Regions from separate parts of the Homo sapiens genome. Here regions 2, 3, 4 and 5 are each linked to region 1. The links are contacts of gene promoters, found by promoter capture Hi-C in blood cells and fetal thymus (Javierre and others, 2016). All regions are on one chromosome and are shown on one strand. Each heading gives the region's core, a stretch centred on a gene start or on the middle of the fragment in contact. The rest is flanking DNA. Distances are from core to core; before and after follow the strand shown.

What was found. Contacts are between HindIII fragments. The CHiCAGO score rates a contact against its expected background, and 5 or more counts as called.
Region 2: a contact is called between a fragment that was not itself captured here and the fragment with the promoter of XXYLT1-AS1 in region 1, in 10 of 17 cell types (monocytes, naive B cells, total B cells and 7 more). The highest score is 10.4, in monocytes.
Region 3: a fragment that was not itself captured here is called in contact with the fragment with the promoter of XXYLT1-AS1 in region 1 in 11 of 17 cell types (total B cells, naive B cells, neutrophils and 8 more); the score reaches 11.2 in total B cells.
Region 4: a contact is called between a fragment that was not itself captured here and the fragment with the promoter of XXYLT1-AS1 in region 1, in 10 of 17 cell types (naive CD8 T cells, total CD8 T cells, M1 macrophages and 7 more). The highest score is 10.7, in naive CD8 T cells.
Region 5: a contact is called between a fragment that was not itself captured here and the fragment with the promoter of XXYLT1-AS1 in region 1, in 2 of 17 cell types (monocytes and naive B cells). The highest score is 5.5, in monocytes.

What each region holds. Positions count from the first base shown.
Region 1 is chr3:195,093,322-195,096,073 of GRCh38, forward strand. It overlaps XXYLT1-AS1 (XXYLT1 antisense RNA 1), which reads left to right and starts at 1,267. Exons shown (of 4, transcript NR_104188.1): 1 at 1,267-1,357; 2 at 1,964-2,056; 3 at 2,278-2,386; 4 at 2,599-2,736. All of the region lies in intron 3 of XXYLT1 (xyloside xylosyltransferase 1), which reads right to left. RefSeq lists enhancers at 708-777, 898-1,067, 1,138-1,187, 1,652-2,752. The HindIII fragment of the contact is 5,440 bases long and covers 1-2,752 here.
Region 2 is chr3:194,763,050-194,765,749 of GRCh38, forward strand. All of the region lies in intron 3 of LINC01968 (long intergenic non-protein coding RNA 1968), which reads left to right. LINC01972 (long intergenic non-protein coding RNA 1972) reads right to left here. Exons shown (of 3, transcript NR_146990.1): 3 at 2,189-2,561. All of the region lies in intron 2 of LOC105374292 (a long non-coding RNA gene), which reads left to right. Among named protein-coding and RNA genes, the nearest start is that of LINC01972, 4.3 kb to the right of the region's middle. The HindIII fragment of the contact is 6,875 bases long and covers 1-2,700 here.
Region 3 is chr3:194,738,331-194,741,030 of GRCh38, forward strand. The region is part of intron 1 of LINC01968 (long intergenic non-protein coding RNA 1968); the gene reads left to right. The region is part of intron 2 of LOC105374292 (a long non-coding RNA gene); the gene reads left to right. Among named protein-coding and RNA genes, the nearest start is that of LINC01972, 29 kb to the right of the region's middle. The HindIII fragment of the contact is 3,521 bases long and covers 1-2,700 here.
Region 4 is chr3:194,708,272-194,710,971 of GRCh38, forward strand. It overlaps LINC01968 (long intergenic non-protein coding RNA 1968), which reads left to right and starts at 150. Exons shown (of 4, transcript NR_037891.1): 1 at 150-876. All of the region lies in intron 2 of LOC105374292 (a long non-coding RNA gene), which reads left to right. The HindIII fragment of the contact is 5,304 bases long and covers 1-2,700 here.
Region 5 is chr3:194,809,165-194,811,947 of GRCh38, forward strand. All of the region lies in intron 3 of LOC105374292 (a long non-coding RNA gene), which reads left to right. Among named protein-coding and RNA genes, the nearest start is that of LINC01972, 42 kb to the left of the region's middle. The HindIII fragment of the contact is 1,507 bases long and covers 528-2,034 here.

The sequences.
Region 1 (2,752 bases), core at 17-2,516:
CATATACACCATGGAATACTATGCAGCCATAAAAAATGATGAGTTACTGTCCTTTGTAGGGACATGGATGAAATTGGAAATCATCATTCTCAGTAAACTATCGCAAGTACAAAAAACCAAACACCGCATATTCTCACTCATAGGTGGGAATTGAACAGTGAGATCACATGGACACAGGAAGGGGAATATCACACTCTGGGGACTGTTGTGGGGTGGTGGGAGGGGGGAGGGATAGCATTGGGGGATATACCTAATGCTAGATGACGAGTTAGTGGGTGCAGCGCACCAGCATGGCACATGTATACATATGTAACTAACCTGCACAATGTGCACATGTACCCTAGAACTTAAAGTATAATAAAAAAATAAAAATAAATAAATAAATAAATAAATAAAATTAGATGCTACTTCAAGCCATTACCTGGGGAAAGTAATTAGACTCCTCCGAAAATAACAGCAGTTCTGCTGCCACTCCTGGAGCCTTTCTTCTGGAATTATCTGGCCGTCCTCCCGCTGCCCTTCTCCCCACAGCTGTTCAGGGTGCAGAACTGCCCACTGGGGAAAAGGTGCCCTGACTCCAAGCGCATCCAAACTAATTAGGAGCCTATCCTCCCCCAGCCCACGTCCGTGGAGGCGCCATACCCCCAAGGCCTGGTGCAGTCAAGGGGAGAGTGTCAGCTGCTCCCCTCGGGGACAGTGGCAGCTCCTCCTCCTCCTCCTCCTCTTCCTCCTCCCTGTGTGGAATTTCGTGGGCTGGCTTGCTGGGGAGGCCATGAAACATGAAATTCACAGCACTGGCCTCTCCTGTTCCTAGGTCTCAGACTGAGGGAAAAGCATAAAGAAACGCTGGCTGTGGACGCACCTTGGAAGGAGGCAAAGGAGAAAAGAAAGCAAGCACCCGACACAGCCCAGCGAGGCCCCAAGGAGGCCCCACGCCCCACTGCCTGTCTGCACTCTGCTGAAACCCACATCCACGCCCCCAGGCCAGCTGGCATCTTCCACGCTTCCCTGCTCTCTTGGGGCCTCCTCCCTCACGCCCTCAGTGTCACCTCGCCCTTTGCCCAAGACCAACAGACACCTGCCCACACGCATGCAGGCCCAGAGTGGCCCGACCAGGCTTCCTCGCCCCTTGTTCTGTCCAGACACAAAGCTGACATGGGAGTCCGGTCGGCAGACTCATCCCCACACCCTGTACAAAGCTGGACACCCGCGGAGACCTCCGGAAGCCAAGATCTAAGCGCTTCGATCCCACATTCACAAGCCCCCTCAGCGGGGATTCCCAGACGCACGCTTCTCCTGAGAGAGTCCAGCCCCTCCTGGCGGCCGTGGTCCCTGGATGCGGGTGCTCGAGGCCTGTGTGGGTAATCACGCTTCCCGTCTCCACGCCACCCTTCCCCCACAGAGTCGCCTGCCCTTCCACACAGACAAGGGGCCACAAGGCCGCACCTTCCCCTCTCCACACAGCCTGCGAAGGCATCGCAGATGCCATTCTGATTAGCAAATGCTGCCTCTGCTCCACCACGCACCTGTTCTGTGGCTCAGCTCTGCCACTGGCCCTCCAGAAGGTTTTCTCAGCTAACCCCACTGGCCTCCACCTCCCCTCCCAGGGTTCTCTCACATAAGAGTTACTAGATGCAGGGCAGTGCTTCCCAGACCTTACTGTGCGGGGGAAATGTGTGTCCGGGATCTGGTTAAAATGCAGACTGGGATTCCGCATCGCTGACAAGCCCCCAGGTGATACCAACGCTACTGGTCTGCAGGCCACACTTTTGAGTAGTGAGAAGGTGGAGGTAAGAGTGAGGACTCTGAGTCAGGGAAAGTGTGTTCTGGCCCCAGCTCCACCAGAACTAAGCATTACATCTCATGAGACTGCCGTGAGGGCTGCATGAGGTAATGCAGTGTCTGGCTGTCGCGGGAACGCAGCGTGCACTCGCAAATGCAAATTCTCTTCCTCTTGCTCCAGTCTTCTCCCTGTGGCGGTGGTGAGTGTAATGCCTCAGAAGACTCTGCCAGGGCATTAAACAAAGTCATACGCGAACCCCCCGGTGCACGGCAGGTGGGTGATGTGGGTTCTCCTTCCTTGCCTTCCACCATCTGGGACTGGGGCCAGCACAGAACCTGTGCCCCATATGGTCAGGGAAGGCAGGGGGACAGCTCCTAGAGCTGAGCCTTGCAGATGGGCACTCTTACAGCCGGGCCTCCACATCCAGTTTGAGTGCTCATGTGTGGTGTTGGGGAAAGGGGTCGTTCAGGTCACACTGGTGGGCAATTCTTCAGGGGACTTTGTCACCTGTGTGCTTATGCGTGAGCAACAGCGCCTGATGACTCTTGGGAAGAGCCACAACAAAGCGAGGGCCTGCAGGCGGCAGTGGCCAGGGAACCCTAGGTAAGGCCCTAACACGTGCGGTCCCCTGATCTGCGGGTGGGGCAGCCTTCACTGGAGGGGGAGTGAGTCTCAGTGAATCAGAGTGGGTACATGTGGAGCTGCAGGTCAGCAGCTCAACAGGGATGAGTAAGGTGCTTTCAGAGGCCACGTTAACCACATCTGGCTGGGAAGGAACCAGTTAGCAAACCTCTCTTTCCCTGCCCTGTTTCCAGCCCACAGGAACTCAAGCAGCTTCAGAGAAGGTCTTACTTGTTTCCGGGGAGAGGCCAGAGGCTCCGGGAACCCAATTCAATATGTAATATATAGCAGTGTCCACGCTATGGTCTAAGCAAAGGCAAGAGGAGAAATAAGGTTGATGGATGGCTC
Region 2 (2,700 bases), core at 125-2,624, 330 kb before region 1:
GCCATCTAGGTACAGCAGTTAGGAGCCTGAGCTCCAAAGCCAGATGGCTTGAGCTGGAATCCTTCCTTCTACTTCTGTCTGTGCCCCCTATTTCTTACCCTTAAAGTGGGGTTGAACACAGCACCTACCTGATAGCATTCTTGTGGCAAATCAATGAATTTGAATGCATATGAAAACAGGACCGGCCAGGTGCAGTGGCTCACGCCTGTAATCCCAGCACTTTGGGAGGCCAAGGCGGGTGGATCACCTGAGGTCAGGAGTTCGAGACCAGCCGGGCCAACATAGTGAACCCTTGTCTCTACTAAAAATACAAAAATTAGCCTGGAGTGGTGGTGTGCACCTGTAATCCCAGCTACTCGGGAGGCTGAGGCACGAACATCACTTGAACCTGGGAGGTGGAGGTTGCGGGGAGCCGAGATCGAGCCACTGCACTGCAGCTAGGGTGACAAAGCGAGACTCCATCTCAAAAAAAAAAAAAAAAGAAGGAAGCCAGACCACACACCATCAGCGTCTTCACAGGCCCCTTGGGATATCATTCATGATAAATATTTTATTTATTTATTTATTTGAGATGGCATCTCACTCTGCCGCCCAGGCTGGAGTGCAGTGGTGCGATCTCGGCTCACTGCAACCTCTGCTTCCTGGGTTCATGTGATTCTGCTGCCTCAGTCTCCCAAGTAGCTGGGATTACAGGTAGGTGCCACCACACCCGGTGAATTTTTTTTGTATTTTTTAGTAGAGATGGGGTTAGGCAGGCTAGTCTAGAACTCTTGACCTCAGGTGATCTGACTGCTTCAGCCTCCCAAAGTGCTGGGATTACAGGCGTGACCCACCAAGCCCGGCCAGGAAGGACCTGTTTCTAAGACCCACTTTAGAGGAGGGGAGACTCCTCTGGGCTGTGGGGGTAGGAGTTGGACCATAAGCCAGGGCATCTTGGCTTCTCAGGAAAGAACATGGGAGAGAGTTAATGTGTTGCCCATGCAGTCTTCCTTGACCCTCTGATTTTTCATCTTTTCCTGAAAGGCGTGGATTTATTTTATTTTATTTTATTTATTTTATTTTATTATTTTATTTTTTGAGACAGAGTCTCGCCCTGTTGCCCAGGCTGGAGTGCAATGGTGCCATCTTGGCTCACTGCAATCTCCACCTCCTGGGTTCAGGCGATTCTCCTGCCTCAGCCTTCTGAGTAGCTGGGATTACAGGTGTGTGCCACCACGCCTGGCTAATTTTTGTATTTTTAGTAGAGTCGGGGTTTCACCATGTTGGCTAGGCTGGTCTCGAACTCCTGACCTCTAGTGAGCCACCAGCCTCGGCCTCCCAAAGTGCTGGGATTACAGGCATGAGCCACCATGCCCAGCCCTGGATTTATATTTTTGACATATGTAGTGAGTTGCTTGAATGAATTATGCTTCGCTTGAGTCTTAATCATGTAGTAAAATTGACTTCCTCTTTGAGGTGATGTCAAAGAGTGTAGGATGAAGACGGGGAGCGTTCCAGTGCTACTCTGTTTGGGAAGGAGAGGAAGAAATGCTATTTTCAAAACTAGAAAGTCTTCTAAGTTGGCATGATCTAAGTGTATGTTCTCATCTTCTCCGTGCCTCTAGGCTTAGAAGCAAACCAAAATAAAGATGTTATCGCCAGTTCTTTGTTGCCCTTTCAAAAATATCACTGGCTGGGTTTGGGATGATATCATGAAGCCTCTTAGATCTTAATTTTGTTTTCTTTTTGCTTAGTTTTTTTTTCATTAAAAAGATGATTAAGGAAACATCCTCTATATGATAGGTCTATATAAGATTCCCTTTCAGTAAGGCTTTTGTACCAATTTAAAACATTTAGTAGAAGCCAATAGCAGTGGATGTATGGGGCTGAAATTGATCTAATGCTGTGCTATTTAATTTGATTATAGGTTAGATCTCATTACTGAAGGTTCAGCTTTGGCCTAGATTTCTTAGAACAGAAAAGATTTTGGACTCCAGACACTGGCCCACTCATATGAAGCAGTGTGCAATTCCGTGTTATTAAAGTGCAGGACCGCAAGAACACGGAGGCGTTTGTTATTTCAAATCCATTTAGGAATAAGGCGAGGGAAAAGGAAGGAAAGAGGAACGGAGGAAAGAAGAAAGGAGGAAAAGTTGGAAGAAAGGAAGGAAGGAGAGATTCTAGTGAATTTCTGTAGAATTTTTTTTTTCTTTTAAATTTTATTTTTATTTTTTTTGGAGACGGAGTCTCGCTCTGTATCCCAGGCTGGAGTGCAGTGGCGCGATCTTGGCTCATTGCAAGCTCGATCTCGGCTCGTTGCAAGCTCCGCCTCCCGGGTTCCCTCCCGGGTTCACGCCATTCTCCTGCCTCAGCCTCCCGAGTAGCTGGGACTACAGGCGCCCAGTAGAGATGGGGTTTCACCGTGTTGGCCAGGATGGTCTTGATCTCCTGACCTTGTGATCCACCCACCTCAGCCTCCCCAAGTGCTGGGATTACAGGCGTGAGCCACCGCGCCCGGCCAGAATTTATTTCTAAGGGCTTAACATACTGAACACTTTCTAGTATTCTCTGAAGGGAAGATTCTGGAAAATAAAATTAAGAAATGCTTCACTGAAACAAAGCCTCTTCAGGAATTCATCATGAATTTTCCTACCATCAATTTCCCCTTCTTTCTCTTGAGACAGTCTGTCACCTCATTGGCCCACACTTTGGTCCTGCAAA
Region 3 (2,700 bases), core at 161-2,660, 350 kb before region 1:
TAGTGAGGCAGTGAGTGGTAGGTGTGGGCATTAAGCCAGCTTCTCTTAGTATGTCACCAGTCCCTCCCACTCACATCCCGGCATGAGAGAGTCATCCAGATCTGGTTCTCTGAGTTTTTCCATCCTTAAGGAAAATTCTAGTGACCTAAATCTGGGCCAGAAAACCAATAAACACAGGAGTTGCTTTTTAAGAAAAACTCAGTTGATAGGCTGAAAGTGCCACGAGGCCACAGGACAATTAGAGTATGCTGGGCTCCAAATGCTGAGCAGATGCCATCCTGGTTGGGAGCCAGGCCCTGGGAATAGAAACACCAGCCCTCTGTGCCAGCCCTGGCAGGGCCCTGGGAGGCAGCTGGTCTCCAGCCAGTGGCTCCCCTCTGTTGCCAGCACTGCACAGGCCCCAGGGGAATGAAAATTGAATTTGGCAAAATTCACATTCTTGTCTTTGGAGAGTGGGTGAGAGTTGCACCCTGGGAAGTAGATTATCAGCCAGCCCCATGAGGGGAGGGCTCACGTTCCTTTACTCGCCATCATGTCTCCAGGGTCAAAATCAGTGCCTAGCATATAACAGGTGCTCAGAAATGTTTGTTACTGACTATCTACACACTGAAGACAGGGAACGGAGCTTTCACCACTTCCTAAGGTTTCCAATTCCCAGATCTTTATGTTTGTAGGACTCTAGGTGGCTTCCGATTAAGTACCTATTGTTGAGGGGGACTGTGGGGAGTGGTTGTCCAAATAACAAGAGAATGGCTTCCACAGTCAGGTTCCATTTTAGAGGAGGCTCAGGGTGGAAGTAGTTTGCAAGGGAAGAGGCAGCCCGGCTGAGTCTTGGGTCTTGCAGGAAGGGAGGAAAGGGGATGCCAGAGAGATGTCTTGGGCATGGGAAGAGAGCCTAGGGCTTAACTATAGAAGGGCTTGTGGATGTCCTCTTGCTAGTTGTCCATTCACCAAGCATCTGTCTGTGGGCCTCTTCTTCGGGATGGGCTCTCCTGGGAAAGTACTGCATCTCTGTGTAGAGAAAGTGCTCCTTTCAGAGGAAGTGCTTTGAAGGGTGTGCTTAGAAGACATACCTTGCGATCTGGAGCGCAGATGGCCAAAGACACAAAAAGCCCCTGTGTACAGCCTCCCTGAACAGAGCAGCCCCACCCTAGAGGCTCCACTGGGGTCACTTCTGCCTACAAATAAGGACATGCTGCGAAACATGCTGACCAGTGCCTGCAGTGTGGGGCAGAGAAAGTAGCAGGTGGTTCAGGAAGACAGGAGGAAGCCTGTGGAGGGGGCAGCACCGGAGCTGGCCCTGGAAGTGTGGGGCAGACTTGGCCATAGAAGGGCAGCATAATCAAAGGCGAAGAATCGGGAGTGTTGTGTGAGTCACAGGTCATCCTGTTTGGCTTGAGGCTCAAGGAAGTGGGAGCTGAGGTTGGAAATGTAAACCTAGGCCAGGCAGAGCACCGTGGCTCACACCTGCAATCCCAGCACTTTGGGAGGCTGAGGCAAGAGAATCACTTAAAGATGGAGTTTGAGACCAGCCTGTGCAACAAAGCAAGACCCCATCTCTAAAAAAATTTTTTTAAAAATTAGCCTGGTGCCGTGGCATACACCTATAGTCTCAGTTACTCGGGAGGCTGAGGCAGAAGGATGGCTTGAGCCCATGAGCCCAGGCATTCAAGGTTACAGTGAACTATGATTACACCACAGCACTCCATCCTGGATGACAGGACAAGCCCTGTCTCTATAAACAAATAAACCAGCCAGGCACGGTGGCTCATGTCTATAATCCCAGCACTTTGGGAGGCAGAGGTGGGTGGATCACGAGGTCAGGAGATAGAGACCATCCTGGCCAACATGATGAAACCCTGTCTCCACTAAAAATACAAAAAAAAAAATTAGCTGGGCGTGGTGGCACGTGCCTGTAATGCCAGCTACTTGGGAGGCTGAGGCAGGAGAATAGCTTGAACCAGGGAGTCGGAGGTTGCAGTGAGCCCAGATCATGCCGCTGCACTCCAGCCTGGCGACAGAGTGAGACTCGGTCTCCAAAAAAACAAACAAACCAGTAAACAAGGTCAGAGATGTATGTGTCCTCCCCACGTCCCTCTGCTTTTTTTGACTTCTGGTGAAGAAAATTAGAGGATTAAGTTAATCAGATCCTGCAGTTCATGACATATTACCATCATTGGTCCCTACACATTCCCTCTCTTGATTTGCTTATGTATTCTCATTTCCCCATCCATAGCGGGATGGCTTGCTTCTAATACATTTGCCATCCTTCTTTGTGTTTGTGCATGTTCTTATATAAGTGATATTGCTGCCTAGTTCTTAGGATGCATTTTGCTTTAATGTATGTAAATGATTTGGGATTTCGTATATGTTATTCTGCTGCTGGCTTTTTTATTTGGCACTAGGATTTTAAGATTCATTCATACTACCAAGTGTGCGTACAGGCAATGACTTCTAAGGGCTGTGTAGTACCACTGAAGTACACCCACTACATCCTGTCCACGCCCAGGGGTGGACATCCATGTTGCCCACAAGTGGTTCCTTGGCAAAGGAACGCCATGTTGAGAGTTGACTTTTAGGCAGGCTGGTGGCCTGACAGGGCTGACGCATGATCACCAGTCAATGAGACACTGGTGAGCCCAGCTTGGATGTGTCCAGCTGGAGTTAAGTGGCTGTGACTTCAGGTACTTAAGGGACCTG
Region 4 (2,700 bases), core at 155-2,654, 380 kb before region 1:
TCACCAGGAGGGACTCTGTATGGGGCTGCTTGTGCATCCTCACAACATGGCAGCCAACTTCCTCCTGAGTGAATGATCCAGGAGAGATCAAGGTAGAAACTGCAATGCCTTTTATGACCTCACCTCAGAAGTCACACATCATCATTTCCACAATGTCACAGTGGTTATACAAGTGAGTCCTGTTCAGCGTGGGAGGAAATAACACAAGAGGCAAAGATCACTCGGGACCACCTTGTATATTGGCTACCACAGAACCCAACACAAGCAGTAAGTTAAAATCATGAAGCTCCTGACGTCAGAGGACATGGCTCTGCCATTTGTTAGGTAGGGATCCTGTTAAAGGCTCAGCTTCCTCATCTGGAAATGGAAATATAGGCCTTGCCTGGTTTGCTGTAATGGGTCGTGATGAGGACCAAACTACAAAGAGTGGTACAGATGTTAATTACAATGATTTTTCCTATGCCACCCATGGAAACAAAAATAGCAAGATAGAGAAGGCTAAATCCCAGTTTTTTTTGACTGCTATTCAGCAAAGCCTAGGAGACTTTCATGACACCTGGAGAGGCGGCCGTAGTGTATGTGTAAGAGTACCGGTTCCAGAGTGGGGCTCCCCGAGCTCAGCCCCACCACTTACCAACAGCGGACCTTGGGCCAGATGCTGAAGCCCTTTGTGCCTTGGTTTCCTGACCTATTACTGTGGAAATGATGACAGTACCCTCCTCATGGCATCGTGAGAATTAAATTAGCTAATTCAGGTGAAGCATTTAGAAGAGGACCTCCTGACACTTAATAACTGCTTGATATAAATAATAGCTTCTGCTACAGAGTGGCCATGAAGTCTGGACATGTAGATATTATATTATCATGCATCATAAGGTAATACCAACAAACCATTTATTATATATTCACCTGTTTCCAGATTTAATAGCCAACCTATATTAGTGCTCTGGTCCTAAATGTCCATGCAGTTTACTGTGCTCTTTGGTTGTATCTCTAATCCAGGTAGTTGATCTGGTGTGAGATTCCAACCTCGTGTGAGAGAGGAGAAGACCTTCATTACACTAATTCATGCTGGCCCAGCCTCCAGGCCACCCCAGATGTGAGGTGCTGTTAACACTGCTCTCAGGTGCATTGCTCAGCCCAGTGGGACCTTTTATGACACCAGCACACAGAGTAGAACAGATGTCCCTGTGCTAAGTTGATTTTGCAAACTGCAGTGGCCAGCCCCATAATGGCATAAAGATGTGCTTTACCCCAAAGGGGACAGGGTATTAGAAAACAGTTGAAAAGGCTTCTGAACAACATGTGAGGGTGCCCGGGAGAGGAATGCTCCAGATAGGGAAGGTCTGGGGCTGCAGAGATGTAGCCCATGTTAATAAGACACGTAACTCTGAGCACGTAAAACTCTTGAGCCTAGAAACTGGTAGCACTGATGGCGTTTAAATTACGTTATGAAACAACTCTTTGAAAATAATTTAACAGTTTCTATAAATACCCAGCTCTCTGGTTTGTGTAAAGGCCTTTTTTTTTTCTTTTCTTTCTTTCTTTTTTTTTTTTTTTTTGAGACAGAGTCTTGCTCTGTCACCCAGGCTGGAGTGCAATGGCATGATCTCGGCTCACTGCAACCTCTGCCTCCTGGGTTCAAGTGATTCTCCTATCTCAGCCTCCCAAGCAACTGAGATTACAGGCGCCTGCCACCACGCCCAACTAATTTTTTGTGTGGTTTTTTTTTTGTATTTTTAGTAGGGACGGGGTTTCGCCATGTTGGCCAGCCTGGTCTCGAACTCCTGACCTCAGGTGATCCATCCGCTTCGGCCTCCCAAAGTGGTGGGATCACAGGTGCAAGCCACCGTGCCCAGGCTGCTATCTTATTTTCAAGAATTTGACTCACGTCTTTCTGAAGAACATCTATCACTTAGAATGGCTTTCCCAAAATATGTTTTTAGAACACTAATCCCATGGAATGTTACGGGCATGGCATTAAAAAAGGTTTCAGTGATCAAATGAACTTGGGAAACACTGGGTCAAATATTCTTGAAGATGTTTCTTTTTAAAAGAAATTGTCAGAGCCTTTCATATGCTAATATGTCTCATGATTCTCTATGAGTGATAAAATCTATAGTTTCCCCTACATTTATTTAACCACAAACCCTGTTTTTGGAAGAATATATTTCAGAATAAGTATTCAGTGGAATCTAGATATAGGAAAGTGTAGACCCAATAATTGGAAACCTATTGTTTAGTCCGCCCAGTCCGCCTGGCACATCCACTTTTTCCGATAGCACCGTCTCTTCTTCCAAGAACTGCTCCCAGCTCATTCCTGTGGTCTCCAAGGGAACTGGTGTTTTCTTCTGTGTGCCATCCCTTGGCCAAAGTGACCCACCTCCCAGCCACTAAGTCCCTTCCCTGGAAATTTTGAATTTGGGACCAATAATTCTTTTTCTGGTGGTTGAGGCTGCGAGACACAAAACCTAGGCCGAACGCAGTGCTCACGCCTGTAATCCCAGCACTTTGGGAGGCCAAGGCAGGCAGATCACATGAGGTCAGGAGTTCAAGACCAGCCTGGCCAACATGGTGAAACCCCGTCTGTGCTAAAAATACAAAATTTAGCCACGTGTGGTGGTGTGCGCCTGTAATTCCAGCTACTCAGGAGGCTGAGGCAGAAGAATCATTTGAACATGGGAGGCGGAGGTTGCAGTG
Region 5 (2,783 bases), core at 31-2,530, 280 kb before region 1:
TTCAAGACAGGGATGTTTGGTCCCTCCCCGAAATGTTCCTGCACTAAAACAATCACCTTCGCTTCGGAACTGGCTTGGTTGCCAACCCCTTTGATAAGAAAGGGGCTAAATTGCTCATTATGATGGGGTCCTGGCTAGGTGGGTCAGGATGGGAGCACAGGCTTTCCGTCAGCTTCTGTATCCTGGGGTTTAGAATGGAGTTGTCTTGGGGAGCAGCTGTCACTGTTTAATGGTAGATGAAATACTCACTCTCTCCAACAGCATGAGAAGATGGTGAGCTGTTATTGTTATTATTTTTGATTTACAAAAAGAGCAAGTCATAAAGCCCCAGGGTCATTTAGCTAATGGACACATAATTTTCCAGGCGCTCTCTCATGCATCAGATTATAGGCAAGAGAGCCAGCTCTGTGCTCCTCTCCTAGGCTTGGTCTGGCTGCACAGTTAGGGCTACACCAACACAACCTGGACAGCTCCAAACAGTCTAGGATGTTTGCACCAGGTTTCCGCTCCCAGGCCTGAGCGCTCGAAGCTTCTTATAGCAGCACGTCTCGATTTGTCAGTAATAGGAAGATTATCCACTCAAGAAGATAGAAGTCCATTACTAGTCATTTACCTGATCCTTGGTCATTGCGGGGACTGCAAATGTAGGGAACTATTCGCTCCACTCTGATGCTTCTCCCTTTCAGTAAATAAGACCCAGCTACATGGGTTTACTTGATCTCTAAGGAGTCTTTGAAGTTTTGCAACATAGTCTGTTTACAATGACCAGATTCCTCTTCCCAACTTCCCATCTTGAAATTCTGCTCCTTTTTCTTTTATGGAGTTTATGGGAGGGCTGGGGCTTCTCCTAGTTGAAAGACTGTTAATGATCTTCTGATAATCATGAAAAAACTTTCTCTGAAATTTCCATCAATAAAAGGCACATCATATACTGCCTCCTCTTTGGAACCTCCTTGTTTCTCCAGTTGGAATTGAGCACCCCTCTGCCTGCACATTCCCTTCTTGTGACATGGAAACTGTGCACCGTGTTGTGGCTGTACACAGTTGTGTCTCTCCCATTTGCTTGTTAAGTCCCTTGAGGGCAGGGAATGAGGTCATGAGGGAGAAGCTGTGCCAGGTACGTAGCACAGAGTCAGAAGGTGATGGGCGCTAAAGGAGGTCAGCTGCCTCTCTGGTCTGCCCAGTGCCGGGTGCAAAGTGGGTCAATTTAGATTTTAGTTGAACACACATGGAACTGAGAGGTCAAAAGGACAAACAAGCTAAAGCAATAAGAAATAGGATAAAGGTTTTGTGAGACTCCTGAATTATTTGTTCTGAGTGGGGAAAGAGAGGGGATATGTTCAGTTTTGTTATAATACAATTGTGGGTGGCGGGGAGGGGGTTTCCAGATTTAGTTGCACTGAGCACAGGAGACAAATCAGATTGTGTGATTTGAATTTCTTGATTTTGAAAATTTGAGATGGGTTCCACCTGCTGCTGCCACCCGGTCTCTGGGGTATCTAAACCACATGTACTGACACCGGGACAAGGGAAGGGACCTGCCTCTTCAACCCATAGTGTACCCCACACATGTGGGTTTCCTGTTTGGCTTAAACTGAGGGAAGGGTCATCATTTACATTTGAAGTATTTTTGTTATACGAAATGTTAATGATCATGCTATTTGTAATAGTGGGGCTTGGCCTCCAAACCTAGGGGAGCAATTAGAATTATTTTACTGCAAAGAGCAATCTGTTGCCTTTATAATTTTTTAGTTCTTCAAATAATCTCCATCTGATTTTTTCTTTAGTTAGAACAATGTAGGGGGAAGTGAACTGGGGCCCTCAGGAGGAGGATTATTAATAGTTGCTGCCACCCCCATCAGCTCCAGTTAACCAGCACACAGCCTTTGCCACTATCTCTAAGCCATACAAGGGTCTTGCCAAATAATTATTATTTCCTTTACTTTAAGATGGGGGAACTGAGACCCCAAAAGGATAAGTGACTTCAGCTCAGGACTGAAGCCAGGATTCAAAATCAGACCTGCCAGCCTTCAAAGCTTGTGTCCCTGCCTCCAGACCTTCTCCTTTCCAGAAGCCAGGCTGGCTTCTGTGCAGGAGCCTGTGCTGCTGGGGTGTGTCACTGAGCCCAGGACGGGCCCCACGGGCAGGAAATGCACCTGAGAGCGTTTGCTGGAGAGTCTATGGAGGGCGAGGGCTTCTGCTGTCTGAAGGGCCCGTCTGATCTTTTGATATCATGAAAAAATCTTCCGCACAATTTGCATCCTTAAAAGGCAAATCAGGATAACAGATAATGACCCCTACGGTTTCAGCTCTGGCTTTCCTCCGAGCCTGTGCAATCGCTCTAAGATGTAGCAGAAAGGTCGCACAGGCTGTGGACTCAAAGCCGTTTACCTTGACCAAGTTACTCGGCATCTGGGAGGTTTAGTTTCCTTATTTGTAAAATGAGGCTAATAAAATCCCCTTCTTGGGGGTGATATGACGGTAAAATGATACGTTGAATGGCAGTGCCTAAAACAGTACCTAGAACACGGTAAGCACACCGTAAAAAAGAGATTAAAGCGCATGAACGTAAGCATACACTCTCAAAAGACTGGCGTAGATATTGAGTATATGAATATATGGCAAAGGCCACAGGGCTTTGTTAATGTAATGCGCTGGATGCTGCTGTGGGATGATTACAGGTGATTTTGCGGTAGGGACACTGAGCCTTGGGGCAAGCATGCGATTCATTGGGGGTCGTTGCCATTTGCTCAGTGAGGGAGTGATGAGTTACTCCTCCTCTG